2 separate regions of the Homo sapiens genome follow, and region 2 is linked to region 1. Evidence: promoter capture Hi-C in 16 types of primary human blood cells and fetal thymus (Javierre and others, 2016). All regions are on one chromosome and are shown on one strand. Each heading gives the region's core, a stretch centred on a gene start or on the middle of the fragment in contact. The rest is flanking DNA. Distances are from core to core; before and after follow the strand shown.

Evidence for each region. The method cuts DNA at HindIII sites, captures the fragments that hold promoters and counts their contacts. A CHiCAGO score of 5 or more calls a contact.
Region 2: a contact is called between a fragment that was not itself captured here and the fragment with the promoter of TMC7 in region 1, in 1 of 17 cell types (endothelial precursors). The highest score is 5.1, in endothelial precursors.

The regions. Positions count from the first base shown.
Region 1 is chr16:18,981,924-18,985,805 of GRCh38, forward strand. TMC7 (transmembrane channel like 7) reads left to right here and starts at 2,011. Exons shown (of 16, transcript NM_024847.4): 1 at 2,011-2,207. The coding sequence starts at 2,141. RefSeq lists a silencer at 1,922-1,981. The HindIII fragment of the contact is 29,016 bases long and covers 1-3,882 here.
Region 2 is chr16:19,060,842-19,064,491 of GRCh38, forward strand. TMC7 (transmembrane channel like 7) reads left to right here. Exons shown (of 16, transcript NM_024847.4): 16 at 937-3,101. The coding sequence ends at 1,002. COQ7-DT (COQ7 divergent transcript) reads right to left here. Exons shown (of 3, transcript NR_119381.1): 2 at 2,964-3,198; 3 at 1,913-2,054. Among named protein-coding and RNA genes, the nearest start is that of COQ7, 4.9 kb to the right of the region's middle. The HindIII fragment of the contact is 589 bases long and covers 1,269-1,857 here.

The DNA.
Region 1 (3,882 bases), core at 761-3,260:
AGACGGAGTCTCACTCTGTTGCTCAGGCTGGAGTGCAGTGGCACAATCTCGGCTCACTGCAAGCTCCGCTTCCTGGGTTCAAGCAATTCTCTGCCTCAGCCTCCTGAGTAGCTGGGGTTACAGGTGCCCACCACCATACACAGCTAATTTTTTGTATTTTTTTTAGTAGAGACAGGGTTTCACCATCTTGGCCAGGCTGGTCTCGAACTCCTGACCTTGCGATCCACCTGCCTTGGCCTCCCAAAGTGCTGGGATTACAGGCATGAGCCACCACACCCAGTCTCCAGCCTCCTTTTTTTTTTTTTTTAAATGACCTTGACAGTTTTGAGGAATACTAATCAGGTATTCTGTAGAATGCCCCTCAGTTGAATTTGTCTGATATTTTTCTTATGACCACAGAGGTAAAGTGCCCTTCTCATCCCATCGTAGGAAGGGTGCACACCATCCTCATGGCTTAATGTTGATGTTAACTTATTTACTTATTTACTTTTTTTTTTTGAGATGGAGTCTTACTCTGTTGCCCAGGCTGGAGTGCAGTAGTGCAATCTCGACTCACTGCAACCTCCGCCTCCTGGGTTCAAGAGATTCTCCTGCCTCAGCCTCCCTAGTAGCTGGGATTACAGGCGCCCGCCACCATGCCCAGCTAATTTTTTTGTATTTTTGGTAGAGACAGGGTTTCGCCATGTTGGCCAGGCTGGTCTCGAACTCCTGACCTCAAGTGATCCACCTGCCTCGGCCTCCCAAAGTGCTGGGATTACAGGTGTGAGCCACTGATCCCGGATGATGTTAACTTTGATCATCTGTCTGAGACAGTGTTTGTCAGGTATTATCTAATATAAAACCCACCCTCACCCTCTTCCACCACCACTTCCATACTGCACTCTTTTGGAAGGATGTCGCTATGGGCAACTCACACTTAAGGAGTAGGGAGCTAAGCTCCCCATCCTTAAAGTATCTACGTAAATGATTTCAAAATCTGCACAGGAGATTTCTCTCCATTTTCCCCATTTATTTATATTTAGCAATTACTTTTCTTTTTCTTTTTTTTTCTGAGATGGAGTCTCCTTCTGTCGCCCAGGCTGGAGTGCAGTGGCGTGATCTCGGCTCACTGCAACCTCTGCCTCCTGGGTTCCAGCGATTCTCCTGCCTCAGCCTCCCTGGTAGCTGGGACTACAGGCATGCACTACCATGCCAGGCTAATTTTGTATTTTTAGTAGAGACAGGGTTTCACCGTGTTGGCCAGGATAGTCTCGAACTCCTGACCTCAGGTGATCCTCCCGCCTCGGCCTCTCAAAGTGGTGAGATTACAGGTGTGAGCCACTGCGCCTGGCAATTTTATGTTTTTAACCTGCACACGAACAGAGGTAGAGATGAAACGAGGATATAGTGCAAAACGTAAAAGACAAACACTGCACGTGGTTTTCTCTTCACTCGGCCCTCTAGCTCCCCACCCAGAGCTACCACAGGTAGCCAGTTTTTTGCACCCTCTAGGGAGATAGCTTAGGCATTTACAAGCATGTACAAATATATTTTTTGGTTTCCTTTTTGTTCCCAAATGGTAACTTACTAGATGCACTGATTTGGAGTCTTGGGGTTTTTTGCGTGTGGACTTTTTATTTTTTAATTTTAAAGATGGGGGTCTCACTGTGTTGGCCAGGTTGGTCTCAAACTTGTGAGTTCGTGCGGTCCTCCAGCCTCGGACTCCCAAAATGCGAGGATTACAGACGTGAGCCACCACTCCCAACCAGTTATTTTTGTTATTTATTTCTTTATTAGATCAGGTTTGATTTTAGATGCAGGGGGTCCATGTGCATGTTTGTTACATGGGTGTACCGGGTCCTGGTGGAGACTGGGCTCCCAGTGCGCCCAATCTATTGTTATTTTTTAAGCTCAGTGAGACATCAGGGAGGTCGCTGCTTGTCGCCACCGCTGGATGGAGCCTTGCCGGATCTCCCGGGCTCTGCAGCCCCTCTGCGGTCCCTGATGCTCGGCTCCTCGCGGGGGCGCCCCACTCCGGCTTCTGTGATGTCAGCGCCGGAACCTGGAATCCCGGCTCCGCGAGGGAAGGCCGGGGAGGCGGCGGCGGCGGCGGCGGCTGGAGAGGGTCCTCGGCAGCCTCTGAGGAGCGCGGGGCGCGGCCATGAGCGAGTCCAGCGGCAGTGCGCTCCAGCCCGGCAGGCCCAGCCGGCAGCCGGCGGTCCATCCAGGTAGGGCGGCAGGGAGCGCGCGCGGGGACGGTGCCCCTGGGGTCCGAGGGCGCACGGAGGGAGCCGGGTGCTGGAGGCTCGGCCTGGCCGCTGTTCCCTCCCACCCCCGACGCCGGGTGCTCCCGGCTCTGGGGAACAGCAGGTGGGAAGGAGATCTTCCTTATTCCTGCTCCCTCCACAAACGCGTCCTCATCCAATCCAGTGGAACCCAGCCGGGCCAAAAGGACACGAGAACTGCAGTCTGGACCGTGGTGGGTTTGTCTTCCAGCTGTTGACCGAGACAGTCTTTCAATAGCCTCATCTGCTGTTAAATGAAAGGATTTGAGCACCCCCTCCACGCCTAACATTCTGGTATGAGGTGCCTGCCTCCCGGACATTTCAGCCTTCACATACAGTTAGACCAACTTGAAACCGAATTCTGCCTTGTCTGTTTATTGCTGTGGGACCTTTGGTAAGTGGCTTGCCTTCTCTGAGCCTCAGATCCTTCAGCAGTAAAATGGGAATAGAATGGGGCGGGGATTAGCTGAGAATCGTGTGATGTGTCTAGCACAGTGCCTGGCATTGTGGCTAGACAGTCACAATAAATGGTAGCCAGCCAAGTATTATAATCTTTTGTATCGGGTAGAATTACAGTAAAGTATACAGCTCCATGAATTTCTACAGAAATATGTACAACGGCTGCCCAGTCAGGATAAAAAAGTTGCCAGCACTCAGGCAGGGTTCCTTGTAGCATTTGGAGCTTACGAATCTTGTCCTGAACAAAACACAAGACCCTGCTGTAAAGTTTTATCTGCAATGTTTTCTCTTTTTCAGTTTTAGAATAGAGATTTACTGAAACCAAGGATGTAGGGCCGGGCGTGGTGGCTCACGCCTGTAATCCCAGCACTTTGGGAGGCTGAGGCGGGTGGATCACGAGGTCAGGAGTTCAAGACCAGCCTGGCCAAGATGGTGAAACCCCATCTCTACTGAAGATACAAAAATTAGCCAGGAGTGGTGGTGGGTGCTTGTAATCCCAGCTACTTGGGAGGCTGAGGCAGAGAATAGCTTGAACCCGGGAGGCGGAGGTTGCAGTGAGCCGAGATTGCGCCACTGCACTCCAGCCTGGGCGACAGACCAAGACTGTTTCAAAAAAAAAAAAAGAAACCAAGGATATAGAATAAAACATGAGTGTAGATTTGGTCATTGAGGCCTTCAAATTGGATTGTTCCCAATGTCCAGAAGAAAAAAAAAATTTAGAAGAGACCCAAATCAGAAAACAAAAGTTGGGGTGGATTCAATGCGAATTATTTTCTAGCTCAATATTAATACTGCTTATGTCAGCTGAATTTCAGCCTTTCAATAACAGCTAGTCAAGTATTTTTTTAGTTGGTTCCTATTAATAGTCATCTTATTTTAGTGGAATCCATTATATTGAAGATGTCAAGTTCCTCATTTCCCATACAAAGAATGTGAGATTCATCTTTCTTGCATCTTTGCTAAGTGTATGAGGGGACTTTTGGCATCTTTTCAGGAGGACTATAATTGGGCCCTCTAACTAAAAAGTCTTCTATGCCCCTTAGATAGATGAGTTTTTTTTTTTTTTTTTTGATCTTGTACCCACCAACATTGGTGGGAGGCTCAGAAGGGACTGTGTTTGTAACTTTGTAGCACTTTCTAAACAGTGACCTGTTGTATG
Region 2 (3,650 bases), core at 313-2,812, 78 kb after region 1:
AGTGCCGCAATTTCAGCTCACTGCAACCTCCACCTCCCGGGTTCAATTGATTCTCCTTCCTCAGCCTCCCAAGTAGCTGGGATTACAGGCACCCACCATCACAACCGGCTAACTTTTGTATTTTTAGTAGAGAAGGGGTTTCACCATGATGGCCAGTCTTTTTTTTTTTTTTTTTCCTTTGAGACAGGGTCTCACTCTGTCGCCCAGGCTGGAGTGCAGTGGTGTGATCTCAGTTCACTGCAACCTCCACCTCCTGGGTTCAAGCAATTCTCCTGCCTCAGCATCCCAAGTAGATGGGATTACAGGCACCTGCCACCACGCCCGGCTAATTTTTTGTATTTTTAGTAGAGACGGGGTTTCGGGGTTTCACCTTGTTGGCCAGGCTGGTCTCGAACTCCTGACCTCAGGTGGTCCACCTGCCTCGGCCTCCCAAAGTGCTGAGATTACAGGCGTGAGCCACCTCGCCTGGCCTAATTTTTGTATTTTTAGTAGAGGTGGGGTTTCACCACGTTGGTCAGGCTGGTCTGAAACTTCTGACCTCAGGTGATCCACCTGCCTTGGCCTCCCAAAGTGCTGGGATTACAGGTGTGAGCCACCTCACCCGGCCTAATTTTTGTATTTTTAGTAGAGATGGGGTTTTACTATATTGGTCAGGCTGGTCTCAAACTTCTGACCTCAGGTGATCCACCTGCCTCGGCCTCCCAAAGTGCTGGGATTACAGGCATGAGCCACCGTGTCCAGCTGTACTGTGCATTTTTTAAAAAAAGGATCGGCTGCTTTGTGGACAAGGGGCTGTGGAGCAGACACAATGACAGACCAGATGAGAGGCCATTACAATAGTCCAGTGGTTAGAATCCTCAGCCCTCAGTCTGGTAGGTAATGATGGTATTTGTTTCCAAATATATTAAATGTACATGTGAACTTATTATTTTTTAGGAAAGTCGTGACAAGTGCTACCTAATCCAGAAACTAACAGAAGCCCAAAGGGACATGAGGAACTAACTAGACTGAGCGTGAAGATGGTGCTGCCTGTTGCTTCTAAGCTGACCTAGTGATTCTGCTGAGCCTACAGAGTCTACCTGGGTTTTGAGTGGACATTTAAAAATATATTTTTCTTGAGTTTAGGCTTTTCCATATGTGCAGCTGTGTTTACCTAACCCAGCCCTTAATTAGGGCTTCAGTGACTTAGAAAAGCAGGGGAAACCCAAGGCTTTGCCTGCAGACCGGCCACTCTGTGACAACTCTACCAAAAACCAACAAGCCATTCAAGCTTTTACAAGAATGAAAGAGCGGAGACGGTAGTTTAGTATTTGAGCCACGAGTTTATGTGCACAAGTGTTTTGGGTTGTGGACTGAAGCTCAGCCTGTTAATCAGACCAGCCCATGAGTGTATAACAAACAGAATTGGAGGCTGGTTTCTTAAACACACACGTCCACATTTTTTAGGGTTGTTTTCCTGTGCTTACAATTTTTAATGCATGTGCCTTTATTTCACAAAACATGTGGCTGGGCGCAGCGGCTCACGCCTGTTATCCCAACACTTTGGGAGGCCGAGGCAGGCGGAGCACCTAAGTTGGGGAGTTCAAGACCAGCCTGACCAACGTGGAGAAACTCCGTCTCCACTAAAATACAAAATTAGCTGGGTGTGGTGGCACATGCCTGTAATATCAGCTACTCAGGAGGCTGAGGCAGGAGAATTGCTTGAACCCAGGAGGTGGAGTTTGCAGTGAGCTGAGATCACACCATTGCACTCCAGCCTGGGCAAAAAGAGCAAAACTCTCCCTAAAAAAAAAATGTAGAATATCTCTTAAGATTTCCGTTATGGTAAAAACCATATGCAATAAATACCTCATTGTAAGCTTACCCAAAATTGATAGATGTCAACCTTTTAACAGAAGAACAGAAGTTTAAGTTATTGTTTAATGTAATCAGTTTTCATTTTAATATCTTTGAAATCTTTTTCAAAGGACTGTAGTTTTGTAATGGACTTTTCAAGCCTTCCTTCCATTGTTTTTCTTCCGTTCACTGGCTCCACACGTTTCCTGGGGAGTAGCCTGGAATTTAAAGTTGGGTGCAGGTTTTAGAAAGCTGTTGCTGTTAACAATAATTCTCCCGGCCATCTCCACTCCACTACTCAAAAATGCCTGAATCCTTGCTCAGAGGAGCAAAGGTATCTTCTCGTCCCTTTCTTACAGCCATTTTCTTGCTTTTCCACAAAGATATTATTTAAAGTGGAATATTTTTGTAACTGGGATACCAATGAGCTTTTCGGTCTTTTCCTGACTTGGTAAGGTTTATGGGTTTCTAAATCTAATAACTACAGTCATACCACCCTGAAAATGCCTGATCTCGTCTAAATCTAATAACTGGTGTCATGGAATTTTGAGTAACCAAAGATTCATTCCAGTCTCACTTAAAAAAATAAATTCTGCTGGGCACAGTGGCTCATGCCTGCAATCCCAGAACTTTGGGAGTCCAAGGAGGGCAGATCACCTGAAGTCAGAAGTTTGAGACCAGCCTGGTCAATGTGGCAAGACCCCGTCTCTACTAAAAGTACAAAAATTAGCCAGGCATGGTGGCGTGTGCCTGTAATCCCAGCTACTTGGGAGGCTGAGGCATGAGAATCACTTGAACCTGGGAGGTGAAGGCTGCAGTGTGCGAGACCGTGCCACTGTACTCCAGCCTAGGTGACAGAGGGAGACCCTATCTCAAAAAAAAAGATAGGTGAAAAGAAAAAAAAAGTTGTAATTGTAAACATTTCTGCCCAGTGCCTTTATATTTATATAACATTTTCACTGTGACCAGACTTGATGATATTCAAGTTTTCTATTTGTGTGTGTGTGTGTGTGTGTGTGTGATGAACACAACGAAAACGTACTGCGTTTTTTTTCCTATTATAAAAGTGATACTGAAATATGCTAATTAATATATTAATTTTAGTTAAATGCTGCTAATATGCATACCTCTTACTTGAAGGTTTTTAATATGTTTTGATAACTTTAATAACTTCAGGTGATGTCTGTATAACTTTTAAAGTGCAGCTCTCTCTAACAAATGTGCCTTACAACTCCTGATTAAACGGCGTCTTGAAGGTTTTAAAATGTGATCGTGTATACTGGAATTCAAAGAGGCTTCTTGTCAGCAGTCAAGTGATGATGGAAAACTGTAATAGTTTGTAAAGTTCCTCTTTGCTTTTTCCTAAAATGAGAGAAAAGAAAGAAGTGTTTAATGTAGTCCTCAGATGAGTGCTTTTAAAGCTCCTTGGCTCTGTTGAAGCCAAGGAGGGTGTATGTGTGTAACTGCCCAACTGGTTCATTTTGCCCGCTGCCTGGATACAGCCCATTCATCAAGACAGAGGAATTGCAGCAGAGGAATTGCAACAGAGAAAGCGTTTGATACATGCAGAGCTGGCTAAACAGGAGACCAGAATATTATTATTACTCAAATCAGTCTCCCTGAAATTTTGGAAACTGGGTTTTCCTGTGTATGTATTTTCTCTCTCTCTCTCTGTGTGTGTGTGTGTGTGTGTGTGTTTGAGACGAAGTCTTGCTCTTGTTGCCTAGGCTGGAGTGCAGTGGGGTGATACTGGCTCACTGCAACCTACACCTCCCAGGTTCAAGCGATTTTCCTGCCTCGGGCTCCCGAGTAGC